Linked DNA regions of Homo sapiens: all the other regions are linked to region 3. Evidence: promoter capture Hi-C in 16 types of primary human blood cells and fetal thymus (Javierre and others, 2016). All regions are on one chromosome and are shown on one strand. The core of a region is centred on a gene start or on the middle of the fragment in contact, and the rest is flanking DNA. Distances in the headings are between cores, read along the strand shown. Region 1 overlaps LARS2 (leucyl-tRNA synthetase 2, mitochondrial). Region 2 has its middle 23 kb from the start of LARS2. Region 3 holds the start of CLEC3B (C-type lectin domain family 3 member B). Region 4 overlaps LARS2 (leucyl-tRNA synthetase 2, mitochondrial). Region 5 has its middle 10 kb from the start of ZNF852. Region 6 overlaps LOC105377062 (a long non-coding RNA gene). Region 7 overlaps LARS2 (leucyl-tRNA synthetase 2, mitochondrial).

What was found. Contacts are between HindIII fragments. The CHiCAGO score rates a contact against its expected background, and 5 or more counts as called.
Region 1: a contact is called between a fragment that was not itself captured here and the fragment with the promoter of CLEC3B in region 3, in 6 of 17 cell types (endothelial precursors, M1 macrophages, monocytes and 3 more). The highest score is 7.5, in endothelial precursors.
Region 2: a contact is called between a fragment that was not itself captured here and the fragment with the promoter of CLEC3B in region 3, in 1 of 17 cell types (megakaryocytes). The highest score is 5.5, in megakaryocytes.
Region 4: a contact is called between a fragment that was not itself captured here and the fragment with the promoter of CLEC3B in region 3, in 1 of 17 cell types (M1 macrophages). The highest score is 5.1, in M1 macrophages.
Region 5: a contact is called between a fragment that was not itself captured here and the fragment with the promoter of CLEC3B in region 3, in 1 of 17 cell types (endothelial precursors). The highest score is 5.0, in endothelial precursors.
Region 6: a contact is called between a fragment that was not itself captured here and the fragment with the promoter of CLEC3B in region 3, in 1 of 17 cell types (erythroblasts). The highest score is 6.4, in erythroblasts.
Region 7: a contact is called between a fragment that was not itself captured here and the fragment with the promoter of CLEC3B in region 3, in 2 of 17 cell types (neutrophils and activated CD4 T cells). The highest score is 5.5, in neutrophils.

Annotation. Positions count from the first base shown.
Region 1 is chr3:45,523,907-45,526,679 of GRCh38, reverse strand. It overlaps LARS2 (leucyl-tRNA synthetase 2, mitochondrial), which reads right to left. Exons shown (of 22, transcript NM_015340.4): 20 at 2,572-2,683. Among named protein-coding and RNA genes, the nearest start is that of LARS2-AS1, 16 kb to the right of the region's middle. The HindIII fragment of the contact is 840 bases long and covers 958-1,797 here.
Region 2 is chr3:45,364,076-45,366,935 of GRCh38, reverse strand. No RefSeq gene overlaps it. Among named protein-coding and RNA genes, the nearest start is that of LARS2, 23 kb to the left of the region's middle. The HindIII fragment of the contact is 954 bases long and covers 799-1,752 here.
Region 3 is chr3:45,025,006-45,027,705 of GRCh38, reverse strand. It overlaps CLEC3B (C-type lectin domain family 3 member B), which reads right to left and starts at 1,403. Exons shown (of 3, transcript NM_003278.3): 1 at 1,235-1,403. The coding sequence starts at 1,343. RefSeq lists enhancers at 22-521, 522-1,023. The HindIII fragment of the contact is 8,892 bases long and covers 1-1,716 here.
Region 4 is chr3:45,440,237-45,443,164 of GRCh38, reverse strand. All of the region lies in intron 6 of LARS2 (leucyl-tRNA synthetase 2, mitochondrial), which reads right to left. Among named protein-coding and RNA genes, the nearest start is that of LARS2, 53 kb to the right of the region's middle. The HindIII fragment of the contact is 3,137 bases long and covers 1-2,928 here.
Region 5 is chr3:44,519,626-44,522,445 of GRCh38, reverse strand. No RefSeq gene overlaps it. Among named protein-coding and RNA genes, the nearest start is that of ZNF852, 10 kb to the right of the region's middle. The HindIII fragment of the contact is 1,704 bases long and covers 693-2,396 here.
Region 6 is chr3:45,341,378-45,344,403 of GRCh38, reverse strand. It overlaps LOC105377062 (a long non-coding RNA gene), which reads left to right. Exons shown (of 3, transcript XR_940798.2): 2 at 1,383-1,552. Among named protein-coding and RNA genes, the nearest start is that of LARS2, 46 kb to the left of the region's middle. The HindIII fragment of the contact is 668 bases long and covers 1,135-1,802 here.
Region 7 is chr3:45,398,251-45,401,172 of GRCh38, reverse strand. LARS2 (leucyl-tRNA synthetase 2, mitochondrial) reads right to left here. Exons shown (of 22, transcript NM_015340.4): 4 at 800-928. Among named protein-coding and RNA genes, the nearest start is that of LARS2, 11 kb to the right of the region's middle. The HindIII fragment of the contact is 7,408 bases long and covers 1-2,922 here.

The DNA of each region.
Region 1 (2,773 bases), core at 128-2,627, 500 kb before region 3:
TCAGTTACTTCTTGGAGACACGCTGTGCCCGAGTCACCATTGCAAAATCTCATAATGACTTCTCCCTCAGTCTTGTTCTTGTGTTCCTGAGAACTGCTTTTATGTTAGTTTTGTCTACCGATAAGCAGGAGGCTTTGTCTGGCTCCTGATCAATGATGACTTGACTTTGATCAAGCACCAAGATGCAAAATTCCACAAGCAGCAACCCATGGATATGTTGCGGCTCATGTCTTGGTCTTTTCAATCTAAAACTGCCTCCTCCACCACAAGCACAGGCTTTCTTTATGTTTTCTAATTACAGCCCTAACTCCTGTGCATATCTTTTTAAGTGCCACAAATTTCCAAAGACAATTTGGAATGACAGTGATCCCTTTGGGGAACTTTTGATAGGAACAAAATTGTTCATTTGAGAGGTTCCTTAGAACAAAAAGGATAAAACAATTCTGATTATCCAATGGTATGATTTCTTTAATTGTATAAAGAGGTTTCTAACATAAATCGGACTCAAAAATTGTCTCCCTTAAAGATTCAAAATGTGAGAAACTTAAAAACTGTCTCCCCTGTAGATCCACTGAAAACACATTTCAGTTTTTCCCATCTTTCCTCACCTCCTTCGTCTTTACGTTTAAAATCTTGCTCAACTCATGAAGTCCTTATAATTGCCTTCTCCTCCTCCTCTCTCTTTCCCCTCCTACTTTAAATCAGTTGCACTACCTCATTGTCACTTAAAATTGCAACCCCTATGAAAGAGGCATCTGACACTGACTGGTAGCTAGTATTTAAGCTATGTGGTTGTGTTTAGCTCTGCATGCTATTATTAAGGACTTCCCGAATTCCAGAATGGAAAGACAGGAATTAATATAGAATTCAGACTTATCTTGGGTACACTCAACCCAGGCCTCTCTGACTTCTTCCAACTAAGCCACCTGTTGGAGGGGGCCAGGAGTTGCAAAAGCTTGGTTTAAAAAGGGTAACTAAAAGAGTAACTGGAAAGACCCAGAAGATGACTTAAGACACAATGAAATACACTTGTACTCAATCAGGATGTCTTAAAGCATATAAAGTAGGGCAGAATCTGTTGGGAGCTACACCACATCTCTTTCCTGCTAAAGTAAACTGGACCTTGATTCAGTCTTGCAAGCAGCAAAGAATGAACCAAAGGAAACTTCAGAGTCAGACCCATCCAAATCCTTACCCAGGTTTTAGGATTAGTTCCTGATTTCCAAAGCCCTTTCCACTTTTTTGGTTGATGCTTAAAGTCAGAAACTGTAGATATGGTACATAAACAAAAAACTGGCTGGCAAATCCTCCCACTACGTGAACTTCAATATTTGGCTGAACAAGTTTAATTTTAAAGTGGCTTTAGATATCAAAAAGGATAAAAATCCAAACTAAGCTCATGGGTTTACAATGAAAGCGAAATAAAACAGATTCGCTTTTCCTCAAGGAATGAAAAACACTTCCTTTTGACAGAGACACTTATACTGTAAAAAAGGGGACCCTGGAAAAATAAGTCTCATCTTAGCTAAAAAGAAAAAGGAACCACTGCTCCTCCTGAGGAATTAAGAAGCAACTCTGAGGGAGATGGTAGGGCCCAATTCCCAATGAGTCCCTCAAATCAACAAGGAGTACTATGTTTTAAAGTAGAAGGCAATAAACAAGGCTTTGTGAGAGACACAGGCAATACTCTGTCAACTATAAATCCTACTGTAATTTCCACCTATTTCCTGTAGGCATAAAGTTGCTTGGGTGGTGGGAATTTCAAATAATCCTCAAATTCTTCTTATCACTCAAGCTTACACTGAGACTCGTGGTTTGCTCAACTAAACAACATGCATTTCTTCTCTGTGACACCACATCAGTAAATTTAATTAGGAGAGATCTTTTTTTTAGAAGAAATCTTTTACGTCAACGAAACTGCCAAGTCACATGCATTTCAGATGACCTATTTCTAGAAACATCTGAAGACTTTCCCATGCATGCATGATCTTTCAGGAGCTCAATTACATGTCACTTTGCCCCTCCCTATATGCTTGGCCTAATCCCAGTTCGATGATTATGTGAAGTCCTGGTTTTGTCCAGGCTAACAGTCCCAATGATGTGGAGGGTTCTAGGGGCTGAAATTCAAGCAGGCAGTCAGGCCTGCTTTGATGCCTAGATTAGGAATAATTGGTGAAGAGTGCTGAATTACAGTGTAAGTTTAGACCTATAACTTAATTTCCACCTGTACAGTGGTATTAAACATGAGTTTTTATCTTAAAAAGACCACGCAGGTCATAATATGTGGATACTGGGGGGCTGAGTCACGAGAAGGGATTAAGATGGTAACATCAACACCCACATTAGTCTGGGCACATTATTCAAAGCAGGGAAGTGTCTTTCCTTTTGGTAGGGGTGACCATGTGGATGAAGTACTACCATTCAGAGTACAGGACAGAGAGGTTGCTGAGTATAGATGCCAAATGTTGGACCCTATATCTGAGGACATCTGAGTCCCGAATGATGTTCAAAAAGAGGCTTCGACAAATTCTAGTTAGTAGTAACTGGTCAAAAAAGGACTCTGCCACGTACCTGCCCAGATCTCTGAGGTTACATGAGGGGCCAGTGGAGCAGCCATTACCATCAGGGCACACAAAGCATCCTCAAACTCGGGGCTGTGGAGAATGACGCTCTGAGAGGCTTGCTAAGGAAGAGGAAAAAAAAGTAAGAAGACTGAGGTGTAAAAATAAGCACGGGTAAGAAAGACCATTAATGTATCTGAAGTCCAGAGACA
Region 2 (2,860 bases), core at 26-2,525, 340 kb before region 3:
CTGACCATTCAGTGGAGGAAGAAATGGTACGGAGTTTTCATCTGTGATATTCCTGCCAGACTGTAAGTTCTTTGAGGGCATGAACTGAGTCTTGTACACACCCCGGGAAATACCATAGCAAGCGAATAAGCTCAGAAAGAAGACCGTTCTGGGGAAGAATTGAGGCTCAGTCACTTGCTGATGTGTGAGCTTGGACAAATCACCTACCTTTGATTTTTTTCACCTGTAAATAGGGTAAAAATGAGAATGCCTACCTTTTAGGGATGGTGCCACTTGTAAGTACAATAATTCATGGAAAATGCCTCATATAATGCCTGGCACATGGGGCTTTCAGTAAATGTTTGTTTCTCCATTCCTGCAGCAGCCAGCCAGCTTCCTTGATTATAGTCCTGGCTCAATAAACATCTGCCAATTTAGCTCCTCCTTGAATTGGTGGGGCCCCAGGGCTCATGCTTGCTGAACTGGATGAATCTGCAGAAAAGACTTCTCTGAGGAGGAGCCTCTCCCTGAGTTCCCTATACCTTCTCTTAGGCCCCAGTCCAGGGGACAGCCCTCTACTCCTGTTACTTTCTGAATGGAACGTAGATACAAGATAGGGAAAAAAGCAATTTAAACCCAACATTCTTATGTGGACACCATTTGTGTGTAAAGTCTGTACCTGGCTATCTCCCTCTTCTGGATTTATCTTTGCATCTGACACAGCACCTATCAACCTTAGCAACTAATATTTGTTGAGCACTTAATATGTGTCATCAGGCAGTGTGTTAAACCCTTAATAAATATTAATCCATCTAAGCTTTATAACAAACCCTCTCAATAGGTACTATGATCATTGTTTTGCAGATGAGGAAATTGGGACCCAGGGAGATTAAGAAAAACCACTCAACACCACACAGCTAGCAAGTGCTAGACTGGGATTTGAACCCAGGCAGTCTGGCTCCAGAGCTCATGCTCTTAACCACTAAAGCTGGGCTGCCTCCCTCAATCCTTGCTACACATACTTGCTTGATAAATACGAGTTAAATGTCTGTTGAGTAAAAAGCAACAGGCCTGTCAACTAGCCATCATCCCATGTAGTCAATCTTTCCCCTCCATGCACAAAGGTAAAGATGAAAGGCATGCTTTGTTTCTTGCTCTGAAGGTCATCTGTCCTGGTTTTCCTCAAATTGAGCCTCAACTTCTTTAGAGCATCACTTCACCCATGCAATGTCCAAACAGGTCTTATTTCAAGTGTTTACTCTTCTGAACCCCAAGAAAATTTTAAATTATTCTCTTTTAAGCACTGATAATAAATCAATTTCCCACTATCTGTAAGCCTTGCTTCTTGGGAATAGACTCAGGAATTGGATGGACCATTTTTTCACATTGCTTCACGCTGACCTGCAGGATAGGCCTGGCATTGATGAGCCAAAGGACTAACGACGATCTTTGCAAAGCCAGCATCTGACAGGTCAGTAACTAGGAATATAGGAGTGGATGCCCTTCTGAAACTCCTCACAAGACAATCCAGGCCTCAAGTGTCCTGAAGTAAAATCAGTGTTTTCTTAGGAGCCTGATACTGAAAGGGATTCATCTTGGGCATCCCTTTCAGGGTCACAAGGTTTGCTGAAAGTTGTCTCTTTTATTATCTTTCAAAACTTTGATGCTTTCCCCTAAATGCCTTACAGTGCTGAGTGTATATGAAAAAACCCATTCAGAATGACTCATACCACAATTATACTTGGACTCAGAGACAGACCTTGGGATTAAGCTTTTAATCTATTCATTACAGGGGAGAAAAAAAATCCTTTCCATTGCTGCAAATCTCCTTAGGCCTTGTGATTGCTTCTAGAAAAAGATGATCCTATTTGAAGAAATACTGTATTTTATAAAACAGTATTGAGTTACATTTGACCTGCAGATATTTAGAATTTGTTGTTGTTAGTCTAAGAATGGGTTATAGGTGACACACATTTATTTGCAAATGTATTAAATGTATCTTGCCCATCTTTTGGTGATATCTGCAATTCTAATAAAGAACTTTTAATGGATCCTATATCTCTTACATTTCTGCCATCAATTGGGCATTTAGTCATAGTGACTTTTAGTGTCTCTTATATTCTTGTAGGGTTAATTAGCCCCCGACTTCATGTGTATGTCTATTGCCCCCCACCAAGTAGTCTATAAGTTAATTAAATCAATGATCATGCTCCTTTGATCCTCAATCAGCAGTTCAGCTTATATACAGAGGACAGCAAATTATGTATTGCTCCCAAAGACCTAGTTAAGTATTTTCCAGGCCCAATTATACAGCAGACGAATAGAGAACAAGTAGGCTTTAGTTTCTTATGCTGCCCAACTTATGGGGTGTAGAGATTGTGTCTGTAAAAAATTTAACAAGCACAAGGCTCAAGGAGGGAGCTGGGGAACTGGTCAGCTGATAGGAATAACAACAATAATGTAACTGCACCACCACATCCTTCAGTGGCTGGAAGGGCTTGCCAGCACGTGCTTCGCCTGACAGTGGCTTCCTGGTGGCTGTTGACAAACACACCCAAGTAGAGAGGATGGTACCAAACACAGCTGAACTAATCGCCTTTCGGATCAATCAGAATAAGTATCTGAGGAGCTCCCTCAAGCCCCTTCTTTCTAGTCTTTCTCTCTCTCTTCTCCCACCTCATTTCCCTCAGTCTTTTTTTACCCTTCATGTTTCTCCCTTCTCCCAAACATAGTTTCTAAATATGTAAGACAAACCAGCCTTTCTCTGTCTAATAATGATTGCCTTTCACAGCAGACCTTCAAATTCTTACACTGAATGATCCCTTTCCCACCAGAGGGGAAGATGACAAGAAACTAGAAATCCAGGCTGGCCAAATGATAA
Region 3 (2,700 bases), core at 154-2,653:
ATAATTTTTTAAAATCCAAACAGTTCAAAAAGCTGGTTTCTTTCCCAGTTGAGACTGCGCCCAGCCCCTGGTTTTTCTTCCCAGAGGTAATCACTGTTACTCACTCTTGTGGATCCTTCCAGAAAGAACTTATGCACATACAAGTAAAAATGTATTATTATATAAATCCCTTTTTCAAAGCAAATGTCAGCATCATACTCATTCTCTTTTGAATGTTTCTTTTTTCACTTTGTAAACTGAATCTTGAAGATGATTTTTTTATCAGCAGCCAGATTTGCCCCATTCTTTGTCACAGTGTTGTGAGGCCCCATGGCCCCGATGTCCCTTTATGCACTGCACTAGTTCCTGGCCAGTGGGCAACTGTCCATTTATGAAGAGCCCCGGGAGGGCCTAAGGGAGGCCCCCACAGCCCCTTCTTTCCTTTTCTGTGCCCTTGGTCCTAGCTGCTTGTTTCTCTGCCTCAGTCCCCACCCTCATCCCCTTGGACTCTCTTCTAGCCTCTGCTCCCTGGGGGGGTGACAGCCCCGTCCATTGCCATGACATTCCACTGATGTTGTCTCAACACAGCCTGGGGTGACCTCACTGCAGGCGGGGCTGCAAGGGCAAGTCTTGCTGTAGCCAAAGCAACCGAGGGACACCCCAATCCCCAGAGGCTACAAAGCAGAGCAAAGCTGCTTCTGGTGGACTAGTCTGAGTTACATTTATTTCCTGAAGGCTGTGATATGCTACAGAAATGAGAATTCATTTCTTCTTCTTTTTCTTTTCCCTGTGCATCAAGCAACAAGTGAGGTGCCTTTATATATTTTGTATCATAAAATCTTCATGAGAAGTCTTTGAACAAATACCACTGTCCCCATTTTACAGTTGAGAAAACAGGTTGGAAGACTCCAAAGCCCAGCCTGTGCAGCTCTCCCTGGTAAGGGCTGAGCGCTGCCAGACTCCCAGGCCAAAGGTTTGGTTTCTTTAAAATATTGGGGATGAGGGGAGGAGAGAAGAGCAAAGATCAGTTTGGATGATCTGGAAGGTTCTTCCCAACTCTAAGGGTCAGGGATTCTTATGATTCTGACAACCAACTCTGCTATGAGAGAACTCCCCCAAGCCCCAAAGCCCACTTTACTCAAGTTCCCTAGATGACTCAAAAGGAGGAAAATGAAGGAAAGGAGCATGAGGACACACTAAGGAGAGGGGGACCTGCTCCCTGGAAGATGGCACAGGGCTCTGTCCCCCTCCTTACCTTTCTTGGCATTTACAATCTTCTTGGGCTTCTGGGTTGGTGGCTCGGTGGTGACCTGGGTCAGGAGGGAGAAGAGGCAGAGGAGGAGGTAGGCCCCCCAGAGCTCCATGCTGCTGCGCGGGCGGGGGCTGCTGCTGCCTGCAGCGGGTCTGGGTCCGAACGCAGTGACAGCCACGGCCCAGGCTGCACGTCTTAAGGCAGCAGCCAAAGGACCTCTGTCCAGGAAACCCTCCCCAACTTGGCTGCAGGCGTGCCAAAAAAATAAAACAAACACACAAGCCTGCAGAAGGATGAAGTCCTGAGGGCCACAGAGCCTCTCTGCCAGGGAACACCCACGCAGCATCCTGGCCCTGCCTTCTAGAAAGAAGCCCTTATTTCCTAGGATTCTGAGAAACACACGGTGGTTGTCATCACATCTGCGGAGCAGCTACCTTGGGTAGGGGCTGAGGCTGGCTGTTCACTAACATTAACTCACAGAAGCTTCACACCCAAACCACGAGGGAAGCACTGTCCTTTCCCCATTTTACCATTGAGGAAATTGAGGCTCGGTGAGGTTAGGGAATTTGCCCAGGCTACCCAGCTGTCACGGGGTAGCAATGCCCCCTTATAGGGTGATCTGGGGCTGGCTGTCTGATTGGTTTAGAATATTTGTTATGATTATTTTGTGGCTCTGTCTCCATGTACTTGATGCATTTTTTGGTTAAAAAATCCAAGGGATTCCTTCCCTTCTTGTCTTCCCTTTCTCCTGAGTCCTGTCCTAAAGCCACAAAGTGGGGCATAGCAAAGGTGGCGGAGGGAGAAGCCATCGTGCCCCAGAGGTACCAGAGAGGATGTGGGGAGAATGTGCCCTCAAGGGGTGGACTGGTGTGGGGTGTGGGAGCCCAGCAGGGTGGAGGGAGCATCCTGGGGAAAGCAAAGGCCCTGCCTGGAGTGCTGGAGTCCAAGTGAGGCAAGGAGGGGATCCATGTGGGAGAGAGGCTGGTGGCAGAGACGGGAGATTGGTTACACACAGGGATACTGATCAAATAAATCTACTGAAGACAGTGGGAGTTAGGTTTCCTATTGTCAGAGAAGGAAGTTATGTATATGGAGAGAAAACTGGAATGAATCCTGTTGTGTGGGATTAAAATCGGAATGATCAGTGTACCCTTGTGGCCTTGAATACATAAAGATAAGTCCATATATATAGATGGAAATGTGTGTGTGTCTAGTCCCCACAGTCACTGGGGGGCCTGGAGCAGCCAGCCCCGCATAGCCTGGAGCACTCCTAGCACCTGAATACTGGCTTCTGAATATGACTTTCCACTAAAGGAACCAGAGCACCTTGCAGAAACGGCTGATTCTAGCACTGGGAAGTAGGAGTGGGGTGCAGAAAATGAGCCCGGAACTTGTTGTTTTGCCAGAAAACAAGGAAGTGCTTAATGAATAATGGGAACACGTCAGTAGGACACAGAGCCAGCTTGAAG
Region 4 (2,928 bases), core at 198-2,697, 420 kb before region 3:
ATGTTAATAGTCCTTTCTTCCCTTCTCTAAAGGAAGAGTGCTCAACCGGGAAAATTTTGTTCCCCAGAGACCATCTGGCAAATACTGGAGACATTTTTGTTTGTCACAACTGGGGTGTGTATGCTGTATGTGTGCTACTGGCATCTAGTGGATAGAGGCCAGGGATGCTGCTTTAAAAACCTATAGTGAACAAGACAGTCCCCAGAACAAAATAATCACCCAGTCCCAAATGTCAATCAATAGCGCCAAGGTGGAGAAACCCCGATCTGTGAGTTCAGATTTCTTCAGTTTGAGTCTATAATCACAGGCTGATTAAAGAAGCATCAATCAAACAACTCTCTGGGGGCCATTCTATACATACTGATAACATGTTAAACATCAATGAGCAAAAGTGGAAAGATGGAGGCGGTTAAGTGAGTTGCCCTTCTCCATCGGGGGTAGCCCTATCTCTGTTAAGCATGACTTGCAGCGCACACAGGAATGCTGCATGATGCGACCACCAAGCCTTCTACCAACTCGGAGACCAACCAGGGGAGAGACATGTCAAGTCTGGGGTTGCAGGCAGATAAAATTCTGAAACTCTATTATGTGTGCATAATGCTATTCACTGGTAATAAGTGGTTGATTTTACTACCTAAATTTTAAATCATTTAATGTGCCTCCAAGTAGTTGTCTGACTTGGAAAATCTACATAATAAATTTGTGTAGTAAATTTCCTATTTTGAAGTTGCATACAGTTTTTCTTGATACAACATGAGTCCATCCCTTCCCATAAAATAGTTGTTGAACAACTAAACGTTTAAAGATCATCTATGAGAATCTGCCCCACAGCACCCAAATTCCAGACTGAACCCTGCCTGCAACTCCAAGGGGGAACCCTGTGTCTGTGGGGTGGGGCTTCCTGTTGCTCACATCTGCCCACAAGCTGTGGGATAGCTTGTGGGTAAGACTCCTTAGGGAGACCACCACAGAAGTCAAATAAAAAGTCTTTTCCTTTGGCCTGCTTTTCAAATAAGCCAACGCCTACGTTAATGCACCATTGTTTTCAATACAAAAGTCAGGCAATTCAAAGTTATAGCTACAAAAGCATTGGCAATTCAGCCACACTCCACATAAATCTACATAAAAGTGTCAACTTTTATATCTTCCTGAGCTCTAGAAAGTGCAATCTAGCTGCCAAGAGACCAAATTTACGAATCTGGGATTCCAACTAGAATTGTTCCTCCAAGCTGCATTTCTACATTCTGTAATACCTGGTTTTTAGCATTAAAAATATTTTGCACATTCACAGGCAACCACAGAGCCCAACACACAATCTGAGCTCTCTTAGAACACAAGTGAGGCTCAAAACATCATCTTTTGCGACCTGCCACCCATACCTCAATGACTCTGCACAAATTAACAATTAAGCCAGTCTGGCCAGCAGCTCCTGAGACACAGCGATTCATCAGTGATAAAGTCTAAGAAGGCTGAGGCACGGAGGCCTACCTTACTGTTCCTGGTATAAAATAATACTTGGTCTGTGAAGGAAGAATCACAGCACTCAGCCACCTTCCATGTGCCCCACTGAAGCCTCCTTAGGCTCACACTCCTTGCTCCAGGAAAGAGCCTGGGAGAGTATGGTCTCAGGAAAGACCCTGGAGCCATCTGACTTGGGTTCAAGTCCTCGCATCCTCACTAGTTTGTGGCCACACCACATTTCCCTACTAGAAAACAGAAGCAATGAAACACATCTTAGAGGGTTGCTGTGAGGTTAAAAGGCAATTGTGTGCAAAGCATACGGCTGGGCTTGCAGGAAAAATCAACAAGTACACCCCTTGGCTTTACTCAGTGTGTGATGGGCCGGGTGCAATGGCTCATGCCTATAATCCCAGCACTTTGGGAGGCCAAGGCAGTCAGATCACCTGAGGTCAGAAGTTAGAGACCAGCCTGCCCAACATGGTGAAACCATGTCTCTACTAAAAATACAAAAAGTAGCCAGGCGTGGTGGCATATGCCTGTAATCCCAGCTACTTGGATGGCTGAGGCAGGAGAATTGCTTGAACCTGGAGGTGGAGGTTGCAGTGAGCCGAGACTGTGCCACTGAACTCCAGCCTGGGCGACAGAGCAAGACTCCGTCTCAAAAAAAAAAAAAAAAAAAAGAGTGTGTGATGGCAGGGGTGAGTGAGGCTGGCTTCATTACCGTACCACTCAGAGGTGGGCTGATGTACCCATCAGCCTACTGGGGTAAGGCACAAGGGAGAGAAAGAACTGGGGTAAAAAATAGTGTTCTGCTCCTTAACAAATATTGGCTTTTCGACTAAAAAGAGATGGTGTTTATGAGGGAAAGACCAAAACACATGACCAGATGGAGAAATCCACACTAGGCTGCTCCCAGTCAGCTCTGGCTGGGAGGGCCTGCTAGGTTGCCTCCACCCCCACACTGCTGCTTGGGCAGGATTTAGTCTTGGTTTCTCGGTCCACTTTGACAGTGATGGCCCTAGATTTCAGAACAGCTCATTCAAAGCTGTCATGTATTTTGGTGGCATCACAACCTCAGGATATTTAGGTTAGCTACCAGGAATTTAATAAAACAAAACAAAACAAAAAACCCGAGGCAACATGTTTATCAAGTCAATCATCCGGCGGCCCTGTAAGCATGTCAGAAAGGTGAGCGGCCACTGCACATCACAGTTTCTAGCAACAAAGCATCACTTCACCTCCCCAAGTCTCATTGTGAGCCTCCTGCCTTCAAAACAATGAGTCTTGGAAACAGAGGAGAGTTGTTCACATGCTTTTTGATCTTTTGTAATGTGCACTTTTGTCATTTGCAACAGATCAAAAGGAAACATGTTTAGTGATGGCTTTGTCTTTTATGCCTTCCCAGGTACTTTAATTCTAAAGTGGAGGGATTCTAAAAGCATAATACAGCTCAAAGGCAGAGAAACT
Region 5 (2,820 bases), core at 295-2,794, 510 kb after region 3:
TTTTTTTTGTAGGGAGGGTCTTCCTCTGTTGCCCAGGCTGGCCTCAAACTCCTGGGCTCAAGCAATCCTCTTGTGTTGTCAGCCACCCAGAGTGCTGGGATCACAGGTGTGAGCCACATGCCTGGTCTCCTTGTTCTTTAAAAGAAAAACAAGGCCAGGCACGGTGGCTCACACCTGTAATCCCAGCACTTTGGGAGGCCAAGGCAGGCAGATCACGAAGTCAGGAGTTCGAGACCAGCCTGACCAACATGGTGAAACCCCATCTCTACTAAAAATACAAAAGTTAGCTGGGCGTGGTGGTGTGCACCTGTAATCCCAGCTACTTAGGAGGCTGAGGCAGGAGACTTGCTTGAACCCGGGAGGCAGAAGTTGCAGTGAGCCGAGATCTCACCACTGCACTCCAGCCTGGGTAACAGAGCGAGACTCTGTTTCAAAAAAAAAAAAAAAAAAAAGAAAGAAAAACAAGTTTATCAATCTTGCAGGCAGCCACAGGGGTTAGGATATGAAATTAATCAATTACTAGTGACTACCCTCTACTGAAGTGACTATGTGCAAGCATGCATGGAGGAAGGAAAAAAAAAAGTAAAACAGCTTATGATTCTTTTAATAAAGTCTTGGTTACATATGTTCTAAAAAGAACTTAAAGAGCTTAATCTAAACTCCAATTTGTTTAATGCCATGGCCAGCAAGCTTCATAGGGGATTTTGAAATCTGCCTTGGAAAGGTCTCATAGAACTTGTTTCAACCTCTTGAAGAACCTTGATAAGGGTATTTTTGTTTTTTGGTTTTTCTGTGTTTTGTTTTCACAGGAAATATGCCAAGTCCAAAAGGAGATCCCCCTACCTCCTTCATACCCATTATATCCATTTTCTCTTCAGTAAGACCTTCAGGACCTGAACTGCCAGCCTTCCATCAGCCCCTCATTTATTCTGGCCCCTCAGTATTAGTCACTCCAAATTCACTGTGTGGAGTGAGAACTCCAGTTGGCTCAGGAGGCTTATTTCCTCTTCCCTCCCGCTTTTCTCCCTTCTTGGAGAATTGGCTCAGCAGATCTGAATGGGCTTAGCAAAAAACAGGCTGATACCAGCCTTGAAGTTGAGATTCTGCTAACAAAAGCTGTACCTCCCTGCAGGAAGCTCCCATTTACATAGGCAAGCACCTTGCTGGTGTCTGTGGGTGATCCCTATTGATACATAGACCATTGTGGGATGGCACAGTATCTTTCTGGAGCCCTTTCCATGATGGGTGGAATCCTGGTATTTTTCTTTTTAAGCACTCTTCTCTGGGGGATGATGGGAACTCGGGAGCTCCTGTAAGGTCTATTTCTTTATTTGTTTGTGCCTCGTTCTCCTGCTCCTGAACTCTATAGCAGTAGTGGTGAGGATGTCTGTGCCACTGAGGGACTGTCTCTCTTCTGTTGTGTGTCCCCACAAGGAAGCAGAACAGAGCCTAGACATGGGCACTGCAGGTGTCTGGAGTTCAGCAGTGATACAGGACAAATGTCCCACTCTGTCTCTCTAGAATGTCTCTGTCCTCTAAAAGAATTAAGATAGGCTGGGCGCAGTGGCTCACACCTGTAATTCCATCACTTTGGGAGGCCAAGGCGGGCAGATCATGAGGTCAGGAATTAGAGACCAGCCTGGCCAATATGGTGAAACCCCATCTCTACTAAAAATACAAAAATTAGCCGGGCATGGTCGTGCACACCTGTAGCCCCAGCTACGCTACCTGGGAGGTGGAGGCAGAAGAATCACTTGAACCCGGGAGGCAGAGGTTGCAGTGAGCTGAGATCACGCCACTGCACTCCAGCCTGGCAACAGAGTGATACTCCGTCTCAAAAAAAAAAAAAAAAAAAAAAAAGAATTAAAATAGATTCCAGTTTTCCTTTCTTCAGAACTTTGCCTCTTTTCCTTTTTTTTTTAAAAAAAAAAAATCTTCTCCCCTGCCTTTGCTGTCTTTTCATTTCTTTTCTTTCTTACTTTTCTTTTCTTTTTTTTTTTTTTTTTTGAGGAAGTCTCATTCTTGTCACTCAGGTGGAGTGCAGTGGTGCGATTTTGGCTCACTGCAACCTCCGTCTACTGGGTTCAAGTGATTCTCCCGCCTCAGCCTCCCGAGTAGCTGAGATTACAGGTGCTAATTTTTGTATTTTAGCAGAGACAGAGTTTCACCATGTTGGTCAGGCTGATCTCGAACTCCTGACCTCAAATGATCCACCCATCTATCCCCCCACTCCCCTGAACCTTAACTAGCATTAGTTTATAACAGACGACCTGCAAAACTTACAAAGATAGCTCTCCAAAGAAGTGTCCTGAGAGTTGCCAAAAAGAAATTGCACCAAGGATCCAGAGAAACAGGCATTAATAATCGAACACATGCTTCCATTCCAACCCTAAGCTTCACAGCAGTTACACATAAAGAAAACTGTAGCCAGAAGCAAGAGCACAATCTGTAGCCTTCTCTTCTCACCTTACAAAAACTCCAATGTTTCTTTGGCTCAGAGATTTGCCTCATTTCGAGGTGCTCACTGATACACACATAAGCTGAATACAGCCTTTACCGACTATTTTATTCACTTTAGTTTGCTTTCTTTTTTTTTTCTTTTTTTTTTGAGACAGAGTCTCACTTTGTCACCCAGGCTGGAGTGCAGTGGCCACGGTCTTGGCTCACTGCAACCTCTGCCTCCCGGATCCAAGCAGTTCTCTGCCGCAGCCCCCCGAGTAGCTGGGATTACAGGCGCCCACCACCATGCCTGGCTAATTCTTGTATTTTCAGTAGAGGCAGGGTTTCACCATCTTGGCTAGGCTGTCTTGAACTCCTGAC
Region 6 (3,026 bases), core at 219-2,718, 320 kb before region 3:
CTAAGAGCAAGTGTTTCAGCAAACAAGACAGAGTCCAGAGATCTTTTAGGCCATGGCCTCAAATGTCAAATGGCATCACTTCTGTTATAGTCTATGGTCAAAGCAGTTACAATCCTGCCCAGATTCAAGAGAAGCATCTTGGGCTACATGGGCTCTAGTTCTAAGGGAGAAGTATCAAAAACTTGTGGCGTTCTGTTAAAACTACCACAAGGGGTCCCTCTTTCTCACAAAGTCCTTACAATCCCAGGAAAGGACTCTGATTGGCCTCACTGGGGTCCAAGGACAACCTCTGGACCAATCACCATCAGTATGTTGATTTAGTGCCCTGAGTGGCCAGTCTCAGGTATAAGCTCCACCTTGTGCCATTTGATGGATTGTGTGACCTTGGAGGAAGAGGGTTTGGCTACGGAGTGCTTATGAAATTGACAGGAATCTTTGAGTTCATGGCAAGAGTCCATCAGCCTTTAAATGATGAAATGTACAGATTATTTTTTACCATTGTCTACTGGTAAAAATCAAGGAAGAAGGATAACTTGAGGCAAATAGCACTAAAACTGTACCCAAGCACTAAAACTGTACCTCACCCCTACCACTGCCTGCTCTTTGCTTGCGAGGACCAGGCAGGGAATTGGTCACCACATTCCCAGCCTCTCTCAACTTCCTGTCAATTCTCACCTCCACCTGGTGTCTCTCTCTCTCTCTTCTCCTCTTTCTCCAATCCAGCTCACCCTTTGCCAGACTTCACTTCCTGAAATGTGTCTTCTGCTTAGGTTGTTCCGCGACCCAAACTCCTGAGTAGGTCATTCAAAGCCAATCAAGGCCTGGCCCCAATTTACCTTTCTGACTCTATCTCCTGGAGCTCATCTGTGGGAACCCCTACCTACAGTCAGGCAGATCCTGAGAACACGCCTCGTGTTCTACCTCTGCTAACTTCGCCTGCCTTTCTGCACACCTGCACCTGAGCCAGCCTTCAAGGTCCAACTTCAGATCACCATCTCCTTGACACCATTCCTGATCACCCCAGACTTTGGGGTTTTACTCCTTCCCTAAACAAGTGCACTACATGCTATGTCCATTTCTGGTCTCTGTGTTTGTCTTCTCCATCCCATTCCCGCCAGATCCCCCTGGCAAGCTTGGTGTCCCCAACCCAGGAAGAATTATCCCCTGAAGCAGAAGGAATTTAAGAAACTTCAGGGATTCAGTATTAAGTTGCTTTTGTTGTTCAGCTCTGACTAGTGTGTCCCAGTACTGATAACTGGGTTCCTAACTTGTGTCCTGCAATAATAATGACATCCAACATTTCCAAGCATGGCCTAAGTGCTTTGATATATCCCCTTATTTAATAATAAAAACAATGCTAGTATTTTTTCCCCATTTTACAGAGGCAACTGAGACACAAAGAAGTTAAGTAATCTGTCCCCATTCAAGAGAGAGAACATGGGCTCCACCTCTTGATGAGGGAGTGGCAAACTTTAGGAGAGCATGTGGGACCAGAAACATTGTCGCAACCATTTGTAGAAAATACAGTCTAACACATCATACTCTCCTTCAGGTAATTTTATTTTCAGATAATTACTTTTTATTTTCAGATAATTTGAGAATTATAGAAGAGAGTTGTAAGGATGGTACAGAAAATTCCTGTAGGCCCTTCATCAAAGTTCCTCTAGTATTAATAACATCTTACATCCTCATGGTACACTGCTCAGGGCACATTCAGTCATTATATCTCCCAGTGTCCTCTGATCTGGGCAGTGTCTGGGCCTTTCCCTATCTTTTCTGACCATGATACTTTTGAAGAAGCTTGGGTCAGGTGTATACTCTCACTTTGAAAAAGCACACAAATCTCATGTTCAGCTTTAAGGATGTATGAAATTTTAAAAGTCAATAAAATTCCATGACCGCAGTGAAAATAGTTCTCGTATTGTATGCTCTTCCCATCATATATGACTGTCTAAAGATTGCGAACTCCTTGCCTGAGGCATATAAACCCTCTTTCTTACATGGAAAACAGCTCCTAGGCTGATCTGAGCTTCTGTTTCCACATCCAATAATAAAGGGGTAGTGGGGTGGACTACATAATCTACACTCTCTGCCTTGGCTCTAAAAGTAGATTTCATAAACTAAATTTCATGGACTTAAAAATAGAATTTTTGCTCCTTAATTCTTGATCAAATTTCTACCTTAATTTTAAGGGAAACACAATTAAATCAATATCTTTTCAAGTCTAAAACCTACACTTTTTCTGTCTCTGGGCATTCCTCTCCCCGTCTCTCCACTTCACCAGGCTCAAGACTGTGGGAGGACAGCGGGTGAGCTCAGGAGTCATCATCCCCCAGCCACCAGTGTGCCACCAGCTTTAAGGAAGCATTCAGAGCAGTTCTGATGAGTGAATGGCATCTCTTTCAGATGGACTACCCCGTTTGCCTCCTCACTGCTCTGTTTCTGATGCAAGTTTACTAACTTACATAACTTCCAAGTGCATTTTTCCCTCTAAAATTACACAGTCAGGTCCTCCAGGGCAGTGACCTGGGGCACTATTTCCTTTCCCTGCCCACACTGTGTCCACTTTAGGGGTGGTCAGGGAATATGCAATGACCTACTCACTCCTTGGGTATCAGCAAGACTCGTTCTGGGTATCTCCTAGTAAAATAATTTTTCATTCATTCATTCAACAAATGTTTTTAGACACCTATTATATGCCAGGGGCTGTTCTAGCTGCGAGGCCCTATTCTGTTGGGGATAGGATGTCCAACCTCTCAGATATTTGATATTTGAACATTGCTCTGGAAAATCCCCATCAATTGCTGGCTAAATGTATTGGAAGGATAAAATGGGGTATACATGGTGGCAAAGCAATGTGTGTCTGGGTTTAAGAATAAACAACAGGTTGTTTTATTCCAGGTGAAATATACTATGGGTTTTGCTTGCTCTTTGGTCTTGGATTGATGAGTTTTGCTATGCTTTTGACTCAAATGGCCTGTTCCTAGGTGCAAGGAGAGCCTAGAAATGTAATAAAGGTAAAATGA
Region 7 (2,922 bases), core at 316-2,815, 370 kb before region 3:
ACTCCCCAAATATCTTTTCTTAAAAAAATTATTTTTTTCCATTAGAAAATAAATACATGCTCTGCCGGGCATGGTGGCTCACACCTGTAATCACAGCACTTTGGGAGGCCAAGGTGGGCGGATCACGAGGCCAGGAAATCAAGACCATCCTGGCTAACACAGTGAAACCGTCTCTACTAAAAATACAAAAAATTAGCCAGGCGTGGTGGTGGGCACCTGTAGTCCCAGCTACTCGGGAGGCTGAGGCAGGAGAATGGCGTGAACCCGGGAGGGGGAGGTTGCAGTGAGCCGAGACTGCGTCACTGCACTCCAGCCTGGGCGACAGAGCAAGACTCCGCCTCAAAAAAAAAAGAAAAGAAATACATGCTCAAAGAATATGGAAAATATCAAATAGAACAGAAAGAAATATCTTGCAGTCTCACCTGCCACTCATAGCACTGATGTGTATTTGTACTGTTGACCTCAGTTCGTTATATACAATGATTCTCTACTCATGGGTGAGTATCTCCTGGGAAGATTATCAGTGTTATCCACATTTGTATCTACCTTTCACCCCATTCCCATCTGATCTCCACCCCAGCACAACACCCAACTCATGGCTGCCCCCCAATTAACCTAGATGCTTTATTATAATATCATCTAATCCATAAAAGGAAACACTGAGCTTTTCATGTCCATCTTCAAAGCTGTCCTAATCTTAACTAAAGTTGGTTTTCTTCATTTGTCTTGAACACATATTACTACATGCCAACCCTGCGTGTGGCAGACAAGGGCTGCTCCAGCAGGCACCTGTTCTTACCTGCATCCCTCTCATCTTCTGGAACCGTGCTATGGTGTCGCTGATGGTGTAGACACGCACATGGCCCATGTGCAGCTTACCAGAAGGATAAGGGAACATGGAAAGCACGTAAAATTTTGGCTTCGATTTCTAGGAAAGAACGACAATGAGTATTTATTAAGCATTTTCTGGGAACTCTGCATGTATACATAATATTTTGGCATTTTACACAAAGTAATAATTTAACATTTTAAAAGTTTCCTTTTAAAAAGAGTGTTCCCAGAATGTAAATCAATTAAAATGTCAAAAAGCAAAATTCAAAGCCCTGGTTTAAGCTAAAGAATGTCCAAAATAATGCCAAACAACCTCTAAGTGTTAAGTACCCATATATCTTTTTTTTTTCTCTTTTAAAAACTTATTTTTTGAAAGGAATGAATTAACAGTATTTGCAGTGACCTGGGTGAGATTGGAGACTATTATTCTAAATGAAGTAACTCAGGAATGGAAAACCAAACATCTTATGTTCTCACTGATATGTGGGAGCTAAGCTATGAGGCATAAGAATGATACAATGGACTTTGGGGACTTTGGGGGAAGGGTGGAAAGGGGGGTGAAGGATAAAAGACTACAAATAGAGTACAGCCTATACTGCTCGGGTGAGGGGTGCACCAAAATCTCACAAATCACCACTAAATAACTTACTCATGTAACCAAATACCACCTGTACCCCAAAAACCTATGGAAAAAAAAAAGAAAGAAAGAAAAGCGGTCCCAATGCAGACCCGAAGAGAGGGTTCTTGGATCTCACGCAAGAAAGAATTCAGCGCCAGTCTGTAGAAGAAAGCGAAAGCAAGATTATTAGGAAAGTAAAGGGATAAAAGAATGGCTACTCCATTAAAAAAACAAAACAAAACAAAACAAAACAAAAAAACACTTCTCTTTTAAGACAGCTTCTATCTAGGTCCTTAAAGAACTGTTTGTTTTTCCGAAGGAAGCTCTAACATACATATATCCATATAATTCAAAGAAGCAATAGTTGAATCACATAGATGTAACATCTCTAAAAATGGAGTCTCTTCCTAAATTCTCTATAGCTGCATTCTGACGTAGGTTTAGCAGTAATAACAGGATCCTAAAGTACCAATTTGGGTCCTGAGTTTCCCCATTGTATTGAGAGCCTATCTTTCAACAAAAATGTTGAAATGGGAAGGTAATGAGAAGATCCTTTTAAAAAGGGAGAAGGTTGTTGTTCTCCAGGGATGATAAATAAGCAGCCTCAGACCAGGGTTATATAACTCTCCAGCTTCCAAAGAAGCAGCTTCATCATGAGAAACATAGACAACTGTACATGTATCTGAACAGAAGGAACACAGGCCAATGAGTCCTTATTGGATCACTGACTTCTGGCATCTTAATTCTTCCCCTGGTAAAATGATGAATGTCGTCATGAGTGTGCACATGAATGGATAAGGCAAACAAAGATGGTAGTCCTTGAATTAACTCCTACTGGGGGGACCTACTGTTCATGGGGGGACCTACTGTTCAAGGGCAAGAACTGTGCTTTAGTCACCTCTTTCTCCACGTCTGCCCCCAGTGCCAGCAGGAGTTTCATAAAATGTTGGATAAATGTTCGTTGGCCTTTGTGCTCCAAAAGCCTGATAACTGGCCCCTATGGAGCACTTTTTACCCAGCAAACTTCACAAATCCTACCCAAGTAATAGGAGGGTTCCCCACACCCAAGTTTAAATCATCTCATGACAGGGTCAAGGGTGGAGGGGCTGGAGAGAAAGGAAGAGCAACAGGTAACTGGGTAACTGATTCTGTTTCGTCACTAAGGGTCAGAACTTCTGCTTTTATTTATTTCTGCCTTCTGTTTTTTCTTCCTGGCCTTATTCCCTTGCTAGAACTTTACTCCAGTTCTTTAAGAATTTGCTTCCCCTGAAGTAATGCAAACAAACACGAAACAGAATATTCATAACCCTTCTTTTATGTACATATGTGGGATGGGGTTTTTAAATATTGTTTGCTGAATGTTCGCATGACTGATAATACACATAAACCAAATATAATCAGTAGAGCAGAAGAAACCAGAAATCAGATTCTTGCCAAGGAGTTCGTAAACTTCTTTCAGCAAAGAAGTTAAA